2 separate regions of the Homo sapiens genome follow, and region 1 is linked to region 2. Evidence: promoter capture Hi-C in human tissues and cell types (Jung and others, 2019). All regions are on one chromosome and are shown on one strand. The core of a region is centred on a gene start or on the middle of the fragment in contact, and the rest is flanking DNA. Distances in the headings are between cores, read along the strand shown. Region 1 has its middle 23 kb from the start of MIR4302. Region 2 holds the start of RASSF8 (Ras association domain family member 8).

What was found. Contacts are between HindIII fragments. The study calls those that stand out against the background at their distance.
Region 1: a fragment that was not itself captured here is called in contact with the fragment with the promoter of RASSF8 in region 2 in 2 of the 25 tissues and cell types used here (IMR-90 fibroblasts and aorta).

The regions. Positions count from the first base shown.
Region 1 is chr12:25,848,386-25,854,463 of GRCh38, reverse strand. No RefSeq gene overlaps it. Among named protein-coding and RNA genes, the nearest start is that of MIR4302, 23 kb to the left of the region's middle. The HindIII fragment of the contact is 8,335 bases long and covers 1-6,078 here.
Region 2 is chr12:25,953,604-25,959,998 of GRCh38, reverse strand. It overlaps RASSF8 (Ras association domain family member 8), which reads right to left and starts at 1,317. Exons shown (of 6, transcript NM_001394098.1): 1 at 851-1,317. It overlaps RASSF8-AS1 (RASSF8 antisense RNA 1), which reads left to right and starts at 557. Exons shown (of 4, transcript NR_038228.1): 1 at 557-673; 2 at 3,235-3,360; 3 at 3,652-3,772; 4 at 4,758-5,345. RefSeq lists silencers at 706-755, 896-945, 1,016-1,115, 1,216-1,705. The HindIII fragment of the contact is 6,427 bases long and covers 1-4,769 here.

The sequences.
Region 1 (6,078 bases), core at 1,763-4,262, 110 kb after region 2:
CTGAGCAACATAGCAAGACCTCATGTCTACCAAAATTTTAAAAATTAGCAGGGCATGGTGGTGCGAACCTGTAGTCCCAGCTACTTGGAAGGCTGAGGCGGGAGGATTGCTTGAACCCAGTTTGAGGCTGCAGTGAGCTATGATTTTACCACTGCACTCAGCCTGGGCAGCAGAGTGAAACCTTGTCTCATAAAACAAACAAACAAACAAAAAAACTGCACAAGCCTTTTAAATGATTTATATTGTTAAGTCTTTGCACAAGCCTTTATTAAATCATTCATTTTGTTAAAATGAAAACCTTAGACAAATTAAATTGAACAGAGTTTAATTGAGCAAAGAATGATTTGTAAATCGGGCAGTCACCAGAAGCACAGCAGATTCAGACAGACTCTTGTGCAGCCACATGGTGGAAGAAAATTTATGGACAGAAGAAGGGAAGTTATATCCGGAAAATGGAAGTGAGGTACAGAAACAGCCAGATTGATAACAGCTCAGCATTTGCCTTATTTGAACCTGGTTTGAACAGTTGGCCACCTTTGGCTGAAACTTGGTGATTGGCACAAAAGTAGGTTCTGGTCTGTTTACACATCCAGTTGGGTTACAGTTCACTGTGGACGAGAAACCTTTAGGCTGAACTTAGAATATGTAAGGAGGCAGCTTTAGGTGAAATTTTATTTAATAATATCATTTTACAATAATATAGTATGAGTATATATCTTAAGCAACTTGTCAGATTACCCAGAGCATTCTGTGCTGTCTGGGGAATATACGGATAGATACACTGAAGGCTCCCAATTGAGAGGGCTCCTTCTCCTGGTCCTCCTTGTCTCCCTCCACATGGAGTGTGTGCTTACCAAGAGTCAGTTCAGTTTGTACTCAAACCTGATTATGTTGGTTGTATTTGATCTTTCAAAGCACGTAGTTGAATTAAATATAATTAGGCTGATGAAATATGAAGTGTGGAGTGACAGAGAGTTGCTGTTTCTTGAAAACTTACTTTAATACTTTGGAAATACTATAAACATGAGATGCTAAAACAAGTGCTGTTAGAATAGATATGAGCAAGGCAACTGTATAAGACTCAGGAAAAATCACAGAAATCTAAATGGTTTTAGTATTCAGCCACTTCCACAGTGGTGGTACATTCTTTCTCTATTTTAAATAAACTAAAACTAGAAATTATTGATGGCATGTTATGGCTATGCAAGAAAGACCATGCAAAGTTCAATCATCAATCAAAGAAAAGGCCTTGACCCTACTTCTAAAATTTGGTGAGTAGTGAATGTATCTTTAAGGGTTTAAAGTTAAAAATTAAACATTTCAGCTATGCATGTGTTATGATTGTCCACTTTTTTTTTTACATTGAGAAACTTAAGGATGAGATTGTCCACTTTAATAGAGTTTTTTGTTTAACCAACTGACCACAGACCTTCCATTGTAAGATTCTTCAGAAAGGGAGGCTGTATCTTGTTTATCTTTGTAATCCCTGTGCATCATACAGCTCTTAGAACACAGTGCACAGTGGATGTGCAAGAAATGTTTATTGAATCATTGTTATGTCAATAGAGTACAGAGTAGCACTTTTTTTTTCCTCTGAGTTGTTATACTGGGCAGTCACTAGACTTTCCACCAAAACTTCAGAAGTGTAGAGTGAAAATGGCACATGGCAAATTGAATTCAGGAACTGAGTTAAGAGAATGGATATCCAAATATGTGGAAGAAGCTGGAAAATCTCATCTTTGGTCAATGTAAGGTCTAGAATGTAAAGAAAATCTAGAGTCAAAGCCATCAGAAAATGACAAAGAAGCAAGAAGAGAAAATTAACATGTTGTGAGTTCCAAGCAAAACTAAGTTCACTTGAAATTTTATGGCCATGCCCTGTTCAACATTTCTCTACTGAACTTAAAGAAGTAATATTCTGAGTGAGCTTTCAGCAGATGAAATTCTGGACACTGTGAAGCTAGATATAATTCTATAGGAGTTTTTTAGTAAAAGAAAAGTGAAAGGTTTCTTGGGAGAAAATAACAAAGCCATTTTAGTTTATGATAAACGGGGGGTGGGGAGCAACTTTACTTAGAAGCATATAATAGACCAGAATTGCCCTAAGTGTATTCCATGAAATACAAGATTGCAATATATTACATTCTCTGTATTGCCTGATATTTATTTTCTTTTTATTTGTTGTTTATTCTGTTTCCCCTTTTGAAGCAATCTCCGTGACAGAATTGGCTTTTCTTGCCTGTCTTGCTCACTGCCACAGGTCCACAGTCTTAAATAGTGCCAGACACATATCAAGGTCCTCATGAAGATTTATTAAATGAAGTTTCAATGAATACATGGAGAAGCAGCAACCTGGAGAGCTCCAGAACAGCCCTGGAGAGCAGGGACAAAGTTTCACAAAGAGGATCACGAATGAAAGCCACTGTGAAGCAGAGAGGGAATATCAATGACCCCTCCCTCCACCCTCACCACCACCAATGGGGTATTTTCATTTATACATTGAAAATAAAATATGCCTGTAATTCCAGCACTTTGGGAGGCTGAGGCATGAGGATCAGTTGAGCTTAGGAGTTTGAAAACAGCCTGGGTAACATGGCGAAACCCCGTCTCTACAAAAAATACAAAAATTAGCCGGGGATGGTGGCATTGGCCTGCAGTTACAGCTACTTGGGAAGCTGAGGTGGGAGGATCTCTTGAGCCCAGGAGGTGGAGGTTGCTGTGAGCAGTGATCACGCCACTGTACTCCAGCCTGGGTGACAGAATCAGACAGACCCTGTCTCAAAATAAATAAACAAATAAAAATAAAAATTAAAAAATTAAAAAAATTTTAAAAATACAGCTCACTTTTTGCCCATTATAAGGCACTGTGGTAGAGGTGGCAAGATTAAGGTATGGATACCTGAGAAACTGGTGGCTTTATTAGAAGCAGAACAGGCATCTCTCAAGGAAAGGTGAAAAATGCTCATTAATTACTTTAATAGAAATTTTTGTCTTCCTGGTTTATAGCAAAAAAAAAAAAAGATTCATTAGCTGGTGAACATAGTTTCAATAATTTTCAAATGCAATTTATAAGACCGTTTCATAGTAGATGTAGGAGTTACTATATCATTCCTCTCTAAATCACTCAAATGAAAAGACAGAATCATTATGCAGTCATTTAAGTATTTTTAACTAAAGAGATTATATTCATATCATAATCTTTCTTAAATGACTGCATTGTGAAACTAAAGGACAAAGGAAAGAGAAAAGAATATTTCATGTCTTTGCATTTATAATTCCGCAGAGAGCACTGGCTCTCAAATCTGCTACAGTCACCTGGGAACTTTAAAAATAAAGCAATGACAAGCCTCATCCCAGGCCAATTAACTCAGAATCTCTGGGGGTGGGGCCCTAGCATCAGCATTTTTTCAGTGTTCCCAGGGTGATTCTTATGGGCAGCTGGGTGAAGGACAATTAATCCAAGAGATGCTATGGAAGGAACAATAGGAAACCACCTTCACTAGCACCCTTTATGAGAGTCAATCTGAACTGCGGTGATAAGCTTGGAACTCAAATCATTTCTGAGGGCTCAAATCTGAATATTCTAAATATGATGTTTTATATGGAACTCTAACTTCTCACAATATTACACATTTTCTTCATTAGGGAATCAATTTACTAACCCAAAAGTTGGTCAAGGAAATAATCCCTTCAGAAAGCATAATGACTGACCATTAGAGACAGAATGTCATTACACATTAGTAATGACTACCCAGCATCTTTTTTTTTTTTTAATTTGAAACAGGGTCTCACTTTGTTGCCCAGGCTGGAGTGCAGTGGTTCTACGTTGGCTCACTGCCACCTCAATCTCCTGGGTTCAAGCAATCCTCCCACCTCAGTCTCCTGAGTAGCTGGGACCACAGGTGCGAGCCACTACACCTGCCTAATTTTTTGTTTTTGTTTTTATAGAGAGGAGATCTTGCTATGTTGCCCAGGGTGCTCTCGAACTCCTGGGCTCAAGCTATCTTTCCACCTGGGCCCCTCAAAGTGCTGGGATTACAGGCATGAGCCACCACACCTGGCCAGACCACTCAGGTTAAAAAAAAAAAAAAATCTTTCTGAAGTAAAGATTGTGACCCATTGAAATAGTTTGTCAAGGGAGGTTGTGAAAATTATTTCTCTACTGGCACTTAAAATTAAAGTCATGTTGTATCTTTTGAGTTGTTTAAATTGAAGTCTGCCTCGTGAAAGGAAGACGGACCAGACAATTTTGGGAAATTATTTTCAAACCAGAGGGTTTACTTTATTTTATTTTTTAATCTATGCTTACACTTTGCTGGAGGAATCTTGACATCTGTTTGGTGGTATCTTGCACGACAGCTCCATGCTCTGTTTTGAGAAAGATGGCCAGCTGACTAACGGGCCATCCAGGACGGACACAGGTGCCCTTTTCACCACTGTTGTGACTATGTGGCCATTTTCAGTAAAGGGACATTTGATTTCTTTATTCTGCTCCTTCCTTCCCTGTCTCACCTTTTCTAACACCACTCTCCATTAGTCCTCTGGGCTACTGTTTTCTCCTTACTCTGTATTGAATACTTACGTGCTAGGAACTCACAACATTCCTGCAAGATTGATACCATCTATTTTACAATCTCCAATTTGTGGATGAGAAAGTGGGGTGTGGAAATGGGAGAAAACTTTCCTAAGTCACTCAGCTGGCGAGTGGTAAAGCCACCCTGGGATCATAGGTTTGTCTGACCCAGAGTCCAGGCTCTCAAGCACTATATTTGCTCTTTCATGCTTCCACTGTGGGTAGAGTCCCAGGCCATACTCTGGGCCGCTGCCCACTACAGTCAGATCCTGCCTACCCAGTCTGTAAAATGGAGCATCTCTGCCCTTTCTTACTTCCCACTATAGGGAGCAGTCCCCCTGACCATGGGTACACACCCAGGATATGTGGCTTCTAGGGAAATCTCCCTAAAGGGGAGCACCCAGGAGAGGCTGGAAAATCAAAGCATACCTGGCTGCCCACAGCCTTTGATTTTGGTAGAAGGACCATTCCAATGGTTCATCTCTCTCAGCAACAATCATTCTTATTCCCCCTGGATAAGGGGTCAGAGTTAGGGTCACCTTCTGGCTATTCCAGTTAGAACTCCCTTCATGCAAAAAGGCTGAACTCCTCTGCCCAAATTTCTCCCATCAGAAGGGCCCAAGAGCCTTCTCCATATTCAGTAGTTCAGATCACCCCACACTTTTATAATCAAATATACATGCATGTGTATATATATATGTATTCACGCATATATATTTGCATTTATATACACATGCATATATATTTGATTATATATACACATGCACACAGACAGTATTTATTTATTTATTTTGTTTTATTATTTTTCTGAGACAGAGTCTTGCTCTCTGTCACCCAGGCTGGAATGCAGTGGCATGATCTTGGCTCACTGCAACCTCCACCTCCTGGGTTCAAGCAATTCTCATGCCTCAGACTCCCCAGTGACTGGGATTACAGGTGTGCACCACCACACCTGGGTAATTTTTATATATTTAGTAGAGATGGGGTTTCACCACGTTGCCCAGGCTAGTCTCGAACTCCTCAAGTGATCCTCCCGTGTTGGCCACCCAAAGTGCTGGGATTATAGGCATGACCACTGTGCCTGGCCATATATACAGTATTTAAAGGCAAGTGATGAATGTTACTTTTGCTTCCTTAAAAGTGTTACAATCCCATGAATAGAAAGTGGCTAGCATTTATCCAGCATAACAACTTTTTTGAATTAGAGCTATTGATTTATTGCATGCATTTACATTATTTACCCTCAAAAGCAAAAAAATCACCCACTCAGAACCTGACTGACTGTGAAGAGAAATAAGTGACATGTTCCTTAAAAAAAAGAGAGAAAGGAAAAAGATTATGTGACTTGTTCTTTATGACGACTAACCTGGTAAATTGGTCCCCTAATGGCCTAAAGGTGTCAAAAAATTTACAACATATAGTATAAATATTTCGAGGCTCAGAATATCTGGCTCTGTGAATCGCTTTACACTCCAATCTGTTCTCATTTGCATCTGAAATAATAG
Region 2 (6,395 bases), core at 68-2,567:
TCAGCTATGAGACGTGATTTGCATTCATTTCGCTTCTAAATCCCTAAAGATCAGCAACAATATTGACCCGCAATTATATATCCTACGTTGCACTGTTCAAGATGCCATTTGAGGCTGGGAAAGTAGTGGTTTAGCAACACCAGGCGGCTCTATGATGCTAAAATAACAACGCAACACTGGATTCCGAACCCAAGTACTCATCTTTTAAAACCCAGTGCCGCACCAGGACCCACATTCAAAGCTCGCGTCCCTTCAAGTTGAATCTTCCGGCTTTGTGCGATTTACCCTCTCAAACTTTCTAGTTTGCAAGTCAGAATTACTTTGAACGTCCCCTCTTCTGGACTCCCCTCCCCAAAGGGACTGGCGGCAAAGGAGAATAGAATGCAGATGGTTAATAGTTCAAATGAAATTTAAAAACCTATAAACCAATATTTTTTTAGAGGAGAAAAGCGTTCACCAAACCGCCACCCGGCAAGCGAGCATCCGATTTCCATCCGGAGGAAAAAATATTTTAAAAACCAGACATAAAATTCCCTTTGCAAGAAAAGTGGCCTCTAAACTCCCTTGCCAAGGACACTGGGAGGAAGCAGAAAAGCAAAGACCAAGCTCGTACTTTTCAGTCCGCGGCTTGTGTGCCGCGAGGAGAGGCGCAAAGGGTGACACACCAGGAAAGGTGAACGCAGAGGGAGCGGGAGCCCGCGGCGGGGCAGGGTGGGGGCGGAACGGACGAGGTACCCAAGGTGCGGAGAGAGGGGCAACCGGGCGGAGGGCAGCTCCGAGGCTGCAGGCGGGACGGGCGGGGTCCCCGGCGCAGCCCGGATCGCCGCCGCTAAGTAAAGTTAATACTTACTCAGTTTCGCAACTGCGCCGCCCCCGCAGGCCGCCCAGAGGGGCCGGCCGGGGCGCTGGGGACGCGGCGGCACCCGGAGCTCCGCGGCCGCCCAGCGCCCGTCCCCGCGCCGCACTCCCCGGCACTCCCCGGCGCTCCCCGCGCCGCGCGCCCCGCACCGGCTGGAGGCCCCGGCCCCCCGGCGTTCCCTCTCCGCGCACCTCCCGGCCCGCGCTAGGTGAGTGTGGACGCCACTGGCGGGGGTGCCGCGGTGCGCGAGCGCTCGGCCAGCGGCAGAGACGCCGCGGGAGCCGCCCCCAGCGCCAACGCCGCCGCGGGCGGGAAGGGCGAGGCTCGGCGAGGCTGGGCGAGGAGCTGGGCGGCAGACGCTGAGCGGGGCGCGGCGCGGGGCGCCGGACGAGCGCGGGCGTAGGAGGAGCGCGGGCGTAGGAGTCGGCGACCCGCTCGCTCCCGCGGCCGGTGCCTCTGGGCTGGGGGCCGGGCTGGGGGCCGGGCCGGGCCGGGCCGGGCCGGGCGGCCAGGCGGCTCCGCCCCTTCGCCGGGCAGCGGCTGAGCGCGCGAGAGGAGCGGCGCGGGGGCGCCCCCCTCGGCCGGGCGCTCGGGTTTCAGCCGCCGCTCCTCCGCGCCCCGCCCGCGCCTGGCCCGCTCGCCGGCGCCGGGAGAGACCTCGTAACGGAACTGGGACGCCAGCGCTGCATTGTGGGAGCTTTTAAAGCGGCGGGGAGCTCGGCGCGACCCTCGGGCCCACCGGGCCACGCTCGCCCGGCCCGCGACGCCCCCCCGCTGTCGCCTGGCCCGCGACGCACCGAGGCCTGAGGACCCGAAAGCCGGGCGCGGGGAGATGACCGGTGGCTCGTGACGGTCCCACGGGCAAAATCTTCCATCGCCCGGGGCTGAGACTTGTCAAACTGCCCTCTACGGTCACCCGGAAAGTAGGAGGCTTTTTCTGCAGAGGGGAAAAAAATCAAAAAGAGCCGTTCCATCCCCCCTCCAAGGACTGGGTTTGAATTGCTTTTCATCTGCAGTGGCTGTGATTCAGCGTCCCTCTTAGCAGCAGGCAATGACAGAGGCAGGAGAGGGGAAAAAAAAAAAGAAAGAAAGAAAAAACACAGCAAATGAATCAAACGGACGTGAGTAACAAAAGTTTAGAAAGAGCTGGGCTCGTATTCAGAAAAAACGCCTCATCCCCCCGCCCCGCTGCACTCCCAACCCCTTTAAAAATAGCAGATAATCAAGAAAGGAAACGGGTGCTTTCATATGGAAATACAGATGTGTATGTTGTTTTCAATATTCTACTGTTTTTTTGTGTGTGGCATGCAATTACTCAGGCACTGGGCAAAATTCAGCCTTTGGATTTTGTGGTCACACATACCCCAACTCCGCAACAGCTATTAATTTGCAGGGCGATGGGGTGCGGATAGTGGATGAGATACAAGAAAGCATTCCAATTAAAATGCCCCCCCCCACCCCGCCTTTTAATTTTCCAGACACTTGCTTTTATTTTTCTTTTTTTAAACATCATCAAAACAAGAATATTAAACTTGAAGCAGAATTTGTTACAGCGTATCTGACTCAGGACCTGATTTAAGGTTTGGGGTTTTTTGGCCCTTTGTTTCTTCCTCTTGTTTTTTGACCTTTAGTTACTCCACACCTCATTAGTTCCTTGACCTGCAGGTGGACTGAGAAGAGAGCCATGGTAAGACTCAAATTTGTCAAATCAACATTTGGAGAGGAGAAAGTTCACTGTGATTCAAATGCAAAACCAAAGGGAATATGATTTAAAAGTCAACCTGGAGGGCATGGATCCTCCCTTAACCCTACTTGACTCTTTTCAAAGGAGTTGCCTAGCCTTAAGGTGAATGTTTCCTAACCTCTCATTCCCTTCTCAGCCTTTCACTCCACTGAACAACATCAGCCATTGCTTAATTGCCAAATCTAATGGAAAAATTTAATTCCCATCTTGTGCCCTTTGTGGCATTTGCCAATGTTGACCTCTCCTTCTTAGAACTTTCTGCCTTTTGGCCGGGCGCGGTGGCTCATGCCTATAACCCCAGCACTTTGGGAGGCCAAGGCTGGCAGATTGCCTGAGGTTGGGAGTTCGAGACCAGCCTGACCAACATGGAGAAACCCCGTCTCTACTAAAAATACAAAATTAGCCGGGCATGGTGGCACATGCCTGCAATCCCAGCAACTGGGAGGCTGAGGCAGGAGAATCGCTTGAACCTGGGAGGCAGAGGTTGCAGTGAGCCGAGATCACGCCATTGCACCCCAGCCTGGGCAACAAGAGCGAAACTCCATCTCAAAAAAAAAAAAAAAAAAAAAAAAAAAACTTTCCTCCTTTCTTTGGCTGTGGTAGTGATCCCTCTTTTGTGTACTTCTTGAAGCAGGTAGCAGGCAAGAGTGTGGTTATCGTTGGACCAGGATTCAGGATCTGACTGAGTAGCTGACTCTTAATCCAGTTTGTGTTGATCACCAGGAGGATCTGGACCTCAGTATTACCACATCTAGAGGTGAGCAAGTTGACTGACTCTTGATAACTAACTCTTATATGATGAGCATTTATATCAGGACAGAACTTCCTGATTGGATAACAATACCTACTATTTAGGAAAAACCCTTCCTAAAAATCCAGGTATCCTCACCTCCAGTCTTACTGATGGCTGCCAAAGTCAGTGAATTTGCCTCCATTCAGTGCTGGATAAGTGCAGAAAAATCTTTACCCTACCTAGCCCATTTGGTTAATGCGTTCTTTCTTCAGAGTGTAGTACAATTTGTTTTAAGCTTTTTTTTTTTTTTGGTAGCTATAATCACATCCCTGTTAAGCCTTCCTGAGATCACACCAAATGTCCTTGATGGGAATTGTAAACAACCCTTACTTCTGGTTTCTAATGATATTCCAGGAAAGGAGCCTAACTAGAGTCAGTGAGTATTCATGCACTTCAAACCCTGTGACATAATAAGATTTGATTTTTAAGAAAACAACTTGAGAGGATGGATTCAGAAAAGAGGCAGATCCAAGGGAGAGTCTAAACTGGAGAGCAGTGGCAATGAACAGGAGGAGGCCATATCGAGAGATGAATTGATCATCTTATAGACCTGGAGGTCAGAAATCTAAAATCAAAGTGTGGGCTGTGTTCCTTCTGGAGGATCGAGGGGAGAATCCATTTCCTTGCCCTTTTCAGCCTCTAGATGCCACCTGCATTCCTTGGCTTATAGTCCCTTTCTCTATGTTTAAGGCCAACTGCATAGCATCTTCCCCCATTTCTTTGTAACTTCTGCTTCATGGTGATGGGGACATCTCTCTCTCTGATCGTAGGAATTGATTTAGATGCTTTTCTAGCCATATGTATTATGAACTAAATGCAGTTGAATTACTTATGGGAGGAAATGGCAGGTGACCTCATTACTTGTCAAATCATCGTTAGATAACTGACTTGACTGTTAAGATTGCTGAAGCAGTGATTTATTACCTCAGCTAAATCTGTATCAATCTGGTGACCCGTGTAACTGAAACCAAGATGTTAACACTGTAAGAAAACCTAGCTTATGTTTGCAGCTCCTGAGAATAAATCCCTTTATCTTGAAATACCTGGAAATCCCTTTTTAATGTCCAGTGGAGTCATATTGCCAAGTTTGAGAAATGTGTCTAGACCAGTATTTCCCAAACAGCCCACCAGACAACACCAGCCTGTAAGATGGTGATATTGTTTGGATGTTTTTTCCCTCCAAATTTCGTGTTGAAATGTGACCGCCATGTTGGAGTTGGACCTAGTGGAAGGTATTTGGGTGATGGGGAATCTCTTGTGTGGCTATGTACCTTCCCTGCAGTAATGAGTTCATGAAAGATCTGGATGTTTAAAAGAGTCTGTGATCTTCCTCCTCTCTCTCTTGCTCCTGTTCTTGCCAGGTGATATGCCAACTCCACCTTTGCCTTCCACCATGTTTGGAAGCTCCCTGAGGCCTCACCAGGAGCAGATGCTCGTCCCATGCTTCCTATAAGCCTGCAGAACTGTGAGCCATAATAAACTGTGAATTATAAATTGCCTTTATAGCAATGCAAATGGACCAGTACAGATGGGATGCTGGGAAGACAGTTGTTTCCACCTTCAGTAAAGTCCGTGGAACACAGTTGTGACTATATTCTAGGCCAGCCAAGATGCTTGTACTCAGAAAGGAGTGGTCTCAGGACCATAAGAAAGTGAAAAAATAAAAATAAGAAAATAAAGAAGGGATTGTCAATGAATCAGAATTCATCAAGGTCAAAGTCTTAGGAAATTCCTTCATGAGGAAGTCTAGGGGGGCTATGGAAATGAAATTTTTAAACAAATAGGTATGTGGTGCTGGCAGGAATAAATTATGGACTTATGAATATAACATAAGATTCTTTATTACCTGGTCTCACCCGTCTTTCCACCTCTGCCCCCCTTCTTGCCCGACTCTGTGTATCACCCATAATAAACTACTTACAGCTTCCTAGTGTTAAATTTACCCTAAAGCTGCCTCCTTCAATATTTTAAGTTTAACCTAAAGGTTCTTCATACATAGTGAACTATAACCCAATGATTAAACAGATTGTAACCTACTCTTGTACCAGTCACCAAGTTTCAGCCAATCAGAGGTGGCCAACTGTTCAAACCATGCTCAAATAAGGGAAATGTCATGGTGTAACTAATCCAGCTGTTTCTATACCTTACTTCTGTTTTCTTAGGTCACTTTCCTTTTTTGTCCATAAATTCTCTCCAACCACTCAGCAGCACTGGAGTCACTCCAAAGCTATCCTGGTTCAGGGGTCTGTCTGATTCACAAGTCATTCTTTGTTCAATTGAGCTCTGCTAAATTTAATTTGTCTGAAGTTTTTCTTTTAACAGATGGTGTCAGAAATGGACCCCAAAGTAGAGCTCCCAGTGATCCCCCAGGAGCACTGAGTGACCACAAGGGGTACCTGCTGGGCCCGTCCTCTCGCAGTGTCCACTGCTCTCTTACAGCAACTGGAGATTGTGGCTGCATTCTCTCTCAGATTCTGAAGCTCCATACATTGCCGTTTTCAGCTGTTCAAGCTTGCTTGAGCAAATTTTTGATCTTAGCTGAGTTTGGAAGTCGATAGACATTGGACTGGGTCCAGGATTTGATTGGATCTGATAATTAACTGGCTTGGATCCAGTTAGATGCCTCGGTTATCTGACTGGGTCAGATAGAAACCGCCAGTAAATATTTTAATAACAATACTGCAGGGGTATGAACTCTGGCTTTAAGAAACTCACAAGGAATTTTATGTTCTATACCCTTTGTTTCTTTTTCTTGTGTGCTTCGGTCAGGAAAAATCATTAGTCAAGTTAATCAAGGGGATCTGAGAGCCAAATACAAGATTCAACGTAAAAATGGAATCCTTGGGCTAGGCGTGGTGGCTCAGGCCTGTAATCCCAGGACTTTGGGAGGCTGAGGCAGGCGGATCACCTGACCTTAGGAGTTCGAGACCAGTCTGGCCAACATGGTGAAACCCCGTCTCCACTAAAAATACAAAAATTAGCCAGGCGTGGTGGTGGGC